3 separate regions of the Homo sapiens genome follow, and regions 2 and 3 are each linked to region 1. The links are contacts of gene promoters, found by promoter capture Hi-C in blood cells and fetal thymus (Javierre and others, 2016). All regions are on one chromosome and are shown on one strand. Each heading gives the region's core, a stretch centred on a gene start or on the middle of the fragment in contact. The rest is flanking DNA. Distances are from core to core; before and after follow the strand shown. Region 1 holds the start of LINC01460 (long intergenic non-protein coding RNA 1460). Region 2 has its middle 8.6 kb from the start of PLB1. Region 3 overlaps BABAM2 (BRISC and BRCA1 A complex member 2).

What was found. Contacts are between HindIII fragments. The CHiCAGO score rates a contact against its expected background, and 5 or more counts as called.
Region 2: a contact is called between a fragment that was not itself captured here and the fragment with the promoter of LINC01460 in region 1, in 4 of 17 cell types (erythroblasts, M0 macrophages, M1 macrophages and 1 more). The highest score is 7.4, in erythroblasts.
Region 3: a contact is called between a fragment that was not itself captured here and the fragment with the promoter of LINC01460 in region 1, in 1 of 17 cell types (activated CD4 T cells). The highest score is 5.0, in activated CD4 T cells.

What each region holds. Positions count from the first base shown.
Region 1 is chr2:27,714,076-27,717,760 of GRCh38, reverse strand. It overlaps LINC01460 (long intergenic non-protein coding RNA 1460), which reads left to right and starts at 2,029. Exons shown (of 2, transcript NR_135200.1): 1 at 2,029-2,177. It overlaps LOC105374378 (a long non-coding RNA gene), which reads right to left and starts at 1,638. Exons shown (of 3, transcript NR_160725.1): 1 at 1,029-1,638; 2 at 743-914. RefSeq lists enhancers at 711-1,224, 1,225-1,739 and a silencer at 1,933-2,342. The HindIII fragment of the contact is 2,174 bases long and covers 1,162-3,335 here.
Region 2 is chr2:28,485,625-28,489,309 of GRCh38, reverse strand. No RefSeq gene overlaps it. Among named protein-coding and RNA genes, the nearest start is that of PLB1, 8.6 kb to the left of the region's middle. The HindIII fragment of the contact is 1,706 bases long and covers 772-2,477 here.
Region 3 is chr2:28,243,111-28,246,795 of GRCh38, reverse strand. It overlaps BABAM2 (BRISC and BRCA1 A complex member 2), which reads right to left. Exons shown (of 12, transcript NM_199191.3): 10 at 1,934-2,016. Among named protein-coding and RNA genes, the nearest start is that of BABAM2-AS2, 66 kb to the left of the region's middle. The HindIII fragment of the contact is 4,949 bases long and covers 1-3,685 here.

The DNA of each region.
Region 1 (3,685 bases), core at 780-3,279:
ACAATGAACACCTATTACTTTTATAGTTTGCCAAATGACAAAGATATTTCCATTTTGGAGACAAACACAGAAACCAGCACACCAATTTTCGTTTGCAGTGAACATGCTGGTTAAGTGCATCAGAATCTCAGCTCTAAACCTTACATGACCCTGAGTTTTCTGTCAAATGCTGATGATATCAATGTCATAGGGTTATTATGTCACTTAAGTGAAATAATTCCTGGAAAATACTTAGCACAAAGCCTTGCATTTAGTAAGTATTCATGAATATTAGCTATATTATTATTTTATTCTGACATTTCTTTTAGTCTGTGGAGGCCTCTACTCCCCTACTCACAATCTCAGCCACTATTTCCTACTGCTTATCCCAATAACAAGTGGCCTTTCCAAGCCTGCGTGATGCCACATCAGCCACACACCTCTCCTTATGATTCTGTTTGGCAAGTCATAAGCTGTTAGCCCCAGGGCAACACAGAGGCAGGAGGCAGGAGGGAAGGAGTGCAGCACATATGTGCGTGGGCAGGGCCCTGGAGCACGAACCAATGCGATGAGGACGCACAGCACTGGGAACCGGCAAAAATGAGCGAGACGGTTTTCAGGAGAGCAACAGCTGGCAGGGGAAACACCCAGAGAAGTAAAAATATCAGATTTTTAAAAACTGAAAATCTCCAAGCACCTGTAATGCTTCATGCTTACTTTCAGAAAAAAACAAAAACAAACAAACAACAAAGACGAAACTCACTTTTTAGAAAGAAAAGCCGGGTGGAAGAGCACTAAGCTGAGAGGCACTGGCTGGTTAGGGGTAAGAGCCGGGACGCTGCAGTTCGGGTCTGGGTCTGGATTCTGGCTTTTCCACACGCTGGCTCTGTGAACACTGCCAAGCTGATTCATCTTTTGTGTCTCAGTTTTGTCATCTATAATATGGGGATAATAACAGTGCCTAGCTTACGGAGCTGTGAGGCTTGAAGGAGCTAATATGCACATATACACGCTCTGTAAGGGCCGCCCCTTATCATTTAAGTACATGCCTGTTTGCCCTTGACGGGGCTGTGTAGCAGAGCGCCCAGCTGGACGAATCTCCCAGCCAGTTGGGGAGCCCCTCTGAGGGTCATTCCTGCGGATGTGGCCGTCGGGAGGACCAGCCCGTTTGCAGACCAAGCTTTTGCTTCCTCTCATCCCTCCTGAGGAAGACCCTGGGAAAGGAATGCTCTTCCTGCGGGCCCTTCCTCAGACACCAGGCAAACGGGTGAAGGTGCAGAGGTCGGCGGTGAGGAGGGGCCCCTGCGGTCTGCCAGGGTGAGGCTGACCTCCAGGGCTGCAGCTGCTCGGGGGGCCTTTGGCCGGGTTGCCCAGGAAGGCAATGAGGGCTCCCAGGCAGCTTACTGTGCGGGGCCGACCCCAGCAGAGGAGCAGGGCCTGGTCAGGGGCTGGAATGGGAGAAAACAGAGGGGCCCTTGGGGAGGAAAGGGCCCCAGGAGGGAGGCAGTAGGGTAAGTAGGGGGCTGTGAGGAGGCGGGGGCAGGAGGCTGTAGGGGAGGTAGGAGACTAAAGGCGGGGGGAGGGGGGCTGAGGAGAAAGAGGGCCTACAAGGAGGGGGAAAGGAGAGGTGGGATGTGGGGAAGAGGAGGAAGGAGGACTGAGGGCAGGGGGTGGGGACACGGAAGGGGTGTAGGAGGAAAGGGGGTGAAGGTGAGATAAAGGGGAGGGGAGGAAGGGAAGGGGGCAGGGAGGGAGCAGAGAGGGGTGGAAGGGGCAGGAGCCCAGGTATGTGGGGCGTGGGCAGGGGGAGGGAGGGGGGAGGTGAGGGAGTGTGGGAGAGGAGTGGATCCGGGAGGACCAGCCCAGGTGTCGGGGGAGCGGGTCGGGGTGGGGGGAGGTGGGGGCCGTAGGGGAGGGAAAGAGAGGAAGAGGGAAGGGGTGTGGGGAGGGGGGAGGGGGCGGAGGGAGGGTGCCCTGCTCTCGCCTCCTCCCGCCCCGGGCCGCCCCGGCCTCTGGGCCCCTCTGGCCGGGCGCCACCCACGCGCCTCCGATGCAGCGTCAGGCAGCCGCTGGGGAGGACGCGGCGGGAGCCTCAGATGCCACCTACTCCCCGGCCTCTCTCCCAGTTGATGCTTCTATTTTAGGCAGCACATTATTTCCTGCTGTGATTTTTTCAGCCTTCTAATTTGGGCTCTGAGGTAAGCCGTGACATCCGCCGCGCGCCCGCAGCCCCCTCCCGGCCCGGCGGCGCGATCCTGCCCGAGCCCCGCGCCCTCCGGCCGCGCCTGCGTCTTCACGGAGCCACTCGGCCAGGCCTGCCCCCCAAACAGGCTCCCGGGAGGAGGGCTTCTCCCCCGTGCAGGGTGAAAGAGTCCAGCACGAGGGATTTCTAGGCAAAGATTTAGAAAAAGTGACGGGGACAGGGATACATTGCACCATGGTGTCCCCGGTCCGGGCAGGGGACTGCAGATGCTTCCATATCGGAGGTTTAACACGTTTTTTTTCTGGACACGGGCCCCTTTGAGAATCTGATGACGGCCTTGCATCCTGTCCCCAGAGTGTCCAGAGCAAGCCCACGGCCCACACAGACACTGGGATTCTGCCTGTAGCTTCAGGCCCTCACCTCCTGACACTCTAGGGGCGCCAGGACCCCAGGCTAAAAGCCCAGCTCCGAGGTCGAATACTGTATCTGCCTGCTCCTGCCAGTCTCATCCCAAACCGACTCACTGCTCCCTACGTCTCGGTCTCCTCTCCCTCTATCGGCCTCTTTACTTTTGTTTGTTTGTTTGTTGTTTTTTGAGACAGAGTCTTGCTCTGTCGTCCAGTCTGGAGTGCAGTGGCGCAATCTCCGCTCACTGCAACCTCCGCCTCCCGGGTTCAAGCGATTCTCCTGCCTCAGCCTCCCGAGTGGCTGGGACTACAGGCCTGCGCCAACACACCCAGCTAATTTTTACATTTTTGGTACAGATGGGATTTCACCATATTGGCCAGGCTGGTCTCAAAACTCCTGACCTCAAGCTATCCGCCCTCCTCAGCCTCCCAAAGTGCTGGGATTACAGGCGTGAGCCAGCCTGCCCCAGCCCCGGCCTCATTACATTTAATCAATTTTAAAACTGTCTTTGTATGGGTAAGGATCTCACCCCCAAGTGGGCAGATAGAGGTCACATTGGTAGCTGGCCTGCTCTTCAGGTCTCTGGCCTAGTTCATTACCTGGGTCCTGCTGGCATCTGGTAGCGAAAGGACACTGCATTTGGATTCCAGGAGACTTGGGTTCCAATTACATACTTAGTAGTTTCATTCCCTTGGCCTCCCTGAGCCCCAACTTCATCTGTGCAATGGGGAATTGTAATAAAGCTTCCCTCACAAGACTAAGTGAGTCAGTGCACAGGGAGGCACCTTTCAAATGCACCTCCCTGTCAAAGGAGAAGGCCTAGTTTACTTTTTTTGAGTAACTCACACTTGTCTGTTGCCCCTCATGGTGGGCAGCATCCAATAAAGTTTTGTGGTCGTTTTTATTTATTTATTTATTTATATTTATTTTGTTTATTTATTTATTTATTTTGAGACCGAAGTCTCACTCTGTTGCCCAGGCTGGAGGGCAGTGGCTTGATCCCGGCTCACTGCAAGCTCCGCCTCCCGGGTCCATGCCATTCTCCTGCCTCAGGCTTTGGAGTAGCTGGGACTACAAGCGCCCGCCACCACGCCT
Region 2 (3,685 bases), core at 375-2,874, 770 kb before region 1:
AAGTTCAAGCCATGGAGACTCAATACAGACCCTGTGCTAGCAGATACCGCATAAAACCCATGTCCACTCCATCTCCATTCTGGGGAGGGGGGTCCCATGGAGACAGGCTAGTATGGCTGCTGGGTCCTGGTACATGGGAGAAACTTCCCTGGATCTTTTAGAGCTGAAATCCCCTGTGTCCTGGTCCCACGTGGCAGGGCCAGGAGATGGCTCTGGGGAGAGAAGTGTTGTGAAATTTGATGCTCTGCCCACCAGGGGGATCCTGTAGGACCACCTGCTATGGGGCTAATCTTTCCCTCACTTAATTCCCTTTGCATTCTGTCCATGGGAGCTATAATCTGTCCTTCAAATCCAAAAGAAATAACCAAAGGCTCCTAGTCTTTCCCTGGGAATCTCATGTGCTCCAGACCACAATGGGAGGCTCCTGGCTCCAACAGCCCCAAGCATCAGGCACTGACCCCATATATCCCCCTGGCCTGTGTTCAGAGGAGATCATCTGCCCAGAAAAGCTTCCACTGGACAAGGGGTCCAGGGAGGAAAGACAGCCTTTCTAGCCCCAGCCATGGCAACTTACCAGCTGGGGAAATCTCTTTATCCTCACTGCAGTCACTCTGGAATGGGCCTCTGAGCCTTTGGCTGTGTAACAGGGGATTGAGGTGGCGTGGCATGGGATGGCATGGCATGGTGTCATCAGCTTGTTGGGGCTGAGCTGTCAACATCATCAGACACTGGCACGTGGGTGTTAATAGCTTTGGCAATGATGTGCAAGCTTGCTTGCTCTCCCAGCTACGCAGTCCCACTATTTACCTTGATGGCACTCCCTGGGGAGAGGGTGGTGGTATAAGAGTAGGCAGGAGAAGATGAGGTGAGACTGGGACTGGCGTCTGTCCCCAGGGCCCTGATGCAGACTGGCCACTAGGCCTGGCTAGGTAGAGAGATCTGTGCTGACCTCCAGCCATAGGGACATCGAGCTGGACTGGGCACAGCCCTGAGTTTACCATCTCAGCTGGCTCCATCCTGAGGGACTGCCTACCACCTCTGCCTCTGGGCACCACTAGCTGACATTGCAGCCTCCTGTTCCTTCCCCTCCTCCCCCTCCCCTCCCCCTCCCCTCCCCCTCCTTCTCCTCCTTCTCCTCCTCCTTCTCGTTCTTCTTTTTGAGACAGGGTCTCATTCTGTCACCCAGGCTAGGGTGCAGTGGCTCAATCTTGGCTCACTTGGCTCACTGCAACCTCTGCCTCCTGGGTTCAATCCATCCTCCCACCTCAACCTCCAAAGTACCTGGGACCACAGGTGTGTGCTACCATGCCAGGCTAATTTTTGTATTTTTTATAGAGACGGGGTTTCACCATGTTGCCCAGACTGATCTCGAACTCCTGTGCTCAAACCATCCACCCACCTCAGCCTCCCAAAGTGTTAGGATTACAGGCATGAGCCGCCATGCCCTGTTCCTCTCTTCCTTCATGGATTCGGTAAGGGCTTTGTTTGTAACTGCAAGGTTAGCACCCAAAGAGAAAACTTGAGGAAACAGAATTTTCAAATTCCACATCTTCTCCATTCTAATCCCTGCATATTTTCATAGTACAATCTTTCTGAAACAGACTCTGTCTTATAATCCACAAAAATGTTTAGAAACTTGCCACACAGAGAGCGGGTGGGAAAGCCAGATTTTCAATCCAGTTTTTGTGCAGCAAAAACTTGTGTCTCTTAACCCAAGACACAACACCGCATCACTTTTGTTCAGTTGGGTATGGTCCTTAACTGACTCTCAGAGGCCTTCTAGGAGTATGTGGGAGGAGGAGCATCCAGGGACACGGCTCTCCAGAGAGTGGCTGGAATCTCAGCGTGGTCTCTGTGGGAAGCCTGGATGCCTCCTTCTACCTCCTACTCACTTTCTTCTTTGCTTCTGAGACAGAGCTGCTCAGACCAAGTTTCCAATTGTTCCTCTCTGTTGACCTTGAGATCCATGTTTCCTTAGTCATCCTGAGACTCTGAGTTCTGTGCACCTTAACATTTCTTACCTGAATTTGTGTACAATCCCTTCCGGGTCAGCATCCATCACCAGGGTGACCTTTCTAAAACACCTTCTGCTTACTTGTCCCTACCCTTCAATGTGGCTTCTGCTCCCACCACACTACTAGAATTGCTTGAAGGTCAGTAATTTGTTCAATCCAATAAACAATGAGGTCCTCAGACCTCATCTTACTTGCCATCTCAGCAGCATTTCACAGCCAACCTCGGCCCCTACTCTTGGACAACTTGCCCTTGGCCTCCAGGCTTCCAGTTTCCTGGTTTCTTCTCTCCAGCAGTTCCTTCTTGGCCTCCTTTGCCAGCTCCTTCTCTGCTGCTGAAGTTCGTCTGGAGCCTCCTCTTTCTACCTGTCTCTCAAGGTGACCACATACACCCCATTGTTTACTTAAAAATCTATGTTGACCATTCCCCCATTTCAATTTCCAGTCGGACCTCTCTTCTAAGCTTCAAACCCCATAAACTCATTCATGGACTAAGTCTCCACTTTGATGTTTCAGAGGCACCTCAAACTCAAGGAGTTAAGAACCAAACATATGATCTTCCCTGACTCATTTGTAGCCCCATCGGATATGACAAAAGTGGCTCATGAAACCACTCACTGTTCTCCATCTCCACTGCCCCCAGATGGGCCCAGGCATCTGTCCCTGCTCCCCTGAACAGCTGCCCAGCTGCTCCATGTCTACACACGCTTGTTCCAGTCTTTTCGTTTTCACACACAACAGCCTGAACAATCTTGTCAAAGGGCAAACCTGATGTCACACCCTTGTATAAAACCCTCACCAGCTTCCCACTGCCCTGCAGATCAAGTCCAGCCATTGTAGTGTCACTTACAAGGCCCTGTGCTCCCTCCTCTCTCCAGCTTCAAGTCCCACTTGGCCCATCTTCTCTGACCTCAGGCTCACTGAGGCTCCATCATATTCTTAAAAATGTCATCCTTTTTGCATCCTGGCAGCCCTAATGTGTGCTGTTCCCTCTGCCCAGAACTCTCAGACTGTGTCAGTACCCTTCCCACCTCTTGACCTCCCTAATTCTCCTTCTGGTCTCAGTTGAAATATTTCTTCCTACAATGGGCCTTCTCTGGCCTAGTGAAAGAGATGCCCTGACCTCATGCTCCTCTGGCCCCCTGCACTTCTCCTCCAATACTCAGTGTGCTTTTAATTGCTTCTGTAAAGTCTATCCTGCCAGGTGTGGTGGCTCACACCTGTAATCCTAGCACTTTGGGAGGCCAAGGTGGGAGGATCGCTTGAGCCCAAGAGTTCAAGATCAGCCCAGGCAACATAGCAAGACCCCATCTCTACAAAAAATACAAAAATTAGCCAGGCGTGGTGTTGTGTGCCTGAGGTCGCAGCTACTCAGGAGGCTGAGGCAGGAGGATTGCTTGAGCCCAGGAGTTCGGGGCTACAGTGAGCTATGATCGGGTTGCTTCACTCCAGCCTGGGACAGAGCAAGACCCCCATCTTTTAAAATAAATAAATAAGATAAATAAATACAAATAAATAAAGTCTATCCTGTCTGTCCGATGGTAAATTCCAGGAGGGCAAGGACCATGTAGTTCACTGCTGTGTCCCCAGCACTTAGCACAGAGCCTGGTATCTGTAAGTGCTCAATAATTGCTGCATAGATGAATAAAATCCAGACCCACTTCAGTCACTCC
Region 3 (3,685 bases), core at 641-3,140, 530 kb before region 1:
ACCAGAATAGTCATCTTTGAGTTGCATGTGGAAAACATAGGTTATAATTGAGCAATGCCATGAAATATATTTTTCCCCTTATTCTGATATGATCTGACATCAACAGAAAGTAGAACCATGGCTAGGAGACTAAAGATTCAGGAAAAAAGACAGGCTATTATGTCACTTGGAGATGAAGGAACTGGTTGAAGCATTCATCTTAGTGTCTGCAATTGTCCTGCTGTGATGGAGTTGTCCACAGCCACTCAGGAGGCACGAGGCCGTCACCACCATCATTTGAGGTAAGGCCCAGGTCCCTCTTGAGCTGGGTTAGGATAATCACACCAGACAACCTTCCCAAGTCACAAGAGATATGAATAAATTAAGGAAGCAATCAAGATCTGCCGTTGGGTCATCAGGTTACAGAAAGAATCACTGGGACCAAGGTCGTAAGGTAAAGTGAATACAGCAAATAGGAAGTGAGATTTCACAAAGGAATTAAGCCACAGAATGCCAAACCAAAGCAAGGATATATAAGGTCAGAATCAAAAGTGGTGGCTGCAGTACCAGTGTTAGGCTCAGATTAGTAGGGCCATCGAAGACACTGAGCAAAGAGGAGATTGCCAGGAGGCCTTGATTGTGGGGCTTCCTCCTTACCTGGCCCCACACTGTAGGTTATGATGGTGACAAGGTGCCTGACACCTTGAAAAGTGGTGATTGTTGGGCAACACCTCAAGGCAGAGAGGCCCATCTCCTTAAAACTGTGGCCTGCGCTCGATCATCTCTATATGAATTTTACCATGATAAGGTTTTACTTAGACGTTTTCTTCTTTCTGCCACTATGGATGTTTTTTTGGTTTCTGCCCTTACTATCTATTGGTGTGTAATCAGATAGAAAAATGAACTTAAGAACTATTTTAACCAAAGCAAATCATAACGAAGAAGGTAAATCTGCTGCAGAAGAAAAATCCCTTAAAGTCAGTATCTTTACACTGTCTGATGCCTTGGCTAAATACAGCCAAAGTTATTCCTCCTGCAGTAGTTTATTAAGGCATAGGGTAAGTTCTAAAAGCCATGGGTTTGAGTGAAGTCAATTCAAACCCACTGCTTTTCTCTAACTCAAGCTGGGAAAGTTGGCTCCTTTGCCTTGGCCTGAAGACTGAACATTGTACGTACCAAATTACTGCAGAATGAAGGTCTCAGTTGACTTGCAACTTGAACCTGACTCCATGGGTCACTGGTTCTTACATAATCAGGAAATAAAAAGACTCTAAATTATCTATCAAGAGAAAGCTGGGTCGATGTTTACAGACTGATGGATTAATATGTGACAACCACCATTAGGTATGCCTACTACGCAGAAGAACATGAAGAAATGATGTTGGGGATACATTAAAACATTACCCCATCTTTAAGTTATGTATTACATTTTATCAAAGTTGTAGACTTTTCATTGAATAAGGATGATAACCAAATGATCACAGCAGGTATGTTTCCAATAATACCAAAAGTCTTGAGGCCTGATACTGGAAAGATAATTAGAAACAGAATCTGTTTAGGGTAAGGTTTCTCTAGCTTGGCAATACTGAGATTTTGCATTCAATAATTTTTTGTGTGTGTGTGTGAGGGGCTGTCATGTGCATTGTAGGATGTTTAGCTGCATCACTGACCTCTACCCATTAGATGCCAGTAGCAAATCCCCACCCCCTCAGTCATAACAATCAAAAATGTCTCCAGGCATTGCCAAACGTCCCCTGAGGTGCAAAATTGCTCCAGTGGTTGAGAACCACCGGCCTAGAGATATTTTCTCCTTAATATCCCACAATAAATATATATATACGCTACAGTAAAAGGAACCGAGACAGGACAGAAAAGGTTCTAGTACTGATTATTACATGTGGTTTAGGACATTTAAAAATGTATGCTGACATGCTGACAGCAAAAGTATACTCACTGTGTACAAGAAAACAAAAATCTTTCCACATCAGCAGCAGAGTGAGTTTTGTAAAGCCTTCTGCATCATATTCCACGACACCTCTAAGTAATAAAAACATACACACACAAACAAAAAAAACCCTCATAAAATTAAGGTATAAAAGCAATAAAACCAAGTAAAGAATATATTCGTGAAGTCAGGGTTATTGACTTTGAGATGGGTTTAAGGCAAGTGAGGATTAATGCAGGAAGGGCCTGGGGTTTGGAATGACAGTATCTAGGTTTAAGTCACAGCTTTGCCATTGACTATCTACTATGACCTCAGGCAAATCACTTAACCTTTGCAGCCTCAGTTTCCTTACCTGCAAAACAAGTATAAAAATATTTGCAAAATTCATTACAGGGTTGTGAAAAACAAATAAGATAAATCATAAAATACTATACAAATGTGAGTTATTACATTAATTATGAGTAGAAGGACATATTAAGAAATCAAGTCAGCAATGACACTACAATGCCAAATGTCAGCATACTACCTGTACAGTGATTGTTAAGTCTGACTTTCACTGGGCACTACATAGTAATATGCAATGACAGTATTACTAAATTTAGTATTATATATTACTTTTCTTCTTGAGCTGGGTTAGGGCAATCACACCAGACAACTGTGTCCCCTTTCACTGTGTTCCCCTGTCCTTCCCACTGGGCTTAAGGCAAAGTAGCAACACTAGATGGGTGGATGCTGGGTTCAGGAAGGGAGATGCATATTTCATGTGTCAAAAGAAAACATCCCCTGACCTCTGAATGGGCCAAGGCGCAATTCTGTAGCCTCAACTCATCCATTTCCCTCAAGAGCTGAGCGCCTGGAGGATGTCGCCATAATGTGACAATACTAACCACACTAAGGACAGATATAATTTTCTTTCTCATCCATACAAGGAGGACTCTGATGTCCTTAGAGATGCCTTATCCCTGACCAAACCAGGCCAATCAGACCACTGATATTGATGCCCGCCCAGTTTAAGTTGGAAGGAACAGTTATACCCCTTATAAAGGTAAAAGAACTAAGATACTGAAGGGTAAGTGATCTGCTAAAAAATGGTTGGTATATCATTCAGATCTTAAGTCGACAATTCTTTAGTTTATATTTCTATGAATTTATTTATTTTTTTTTTGAGACAGAGTCTCACCCTATTGCCCAAGCTGGAGTGCAGTGGTGCGATCTTGGCTCACTGCAACCTCTGCCTCCTAGGTTCAGGCAATTCTCCTGCCTCAGCCTTCCGAATAGCTGGGATTACAGGCACCTGCCACTATGCCCGGCTAATTTTTTTTTAATTTTTAAATTTTTTTGAGATGGAGTCTAGCTCTGTTGCCCAGGCTAGAGTATAGTGGCATGATCTCGGTTCACTGCAACCTCCGCCTCCCGGGTTCAAGAGATTCTCCTGCCTCAGCCTCCCAAGTAGCTGGGATTACAGGCACCCGCCACCACGCCCAGCTAATTTTTGTATTTTTAGTAGAGACGGGGTTTCACTGTGTTGGTCAGGCTGGTCTCGAACTCCTGACCTCATGATCCGCCCGCCTCGGCCTCCCAAAGTGCTGGGATTACAAGTGTGAGCCACTGTGCCTGGCCTCTCTATGAATTTATAATTAGCCCAATAATGTTATAGTGCTGATATCAATACTTTTCAGATCCTGCATCCCACAGGCAAAGACAAGTATATAGTCCTTTTTAGTATACTACTGTACTACATGCATAATAAAATGTACACAA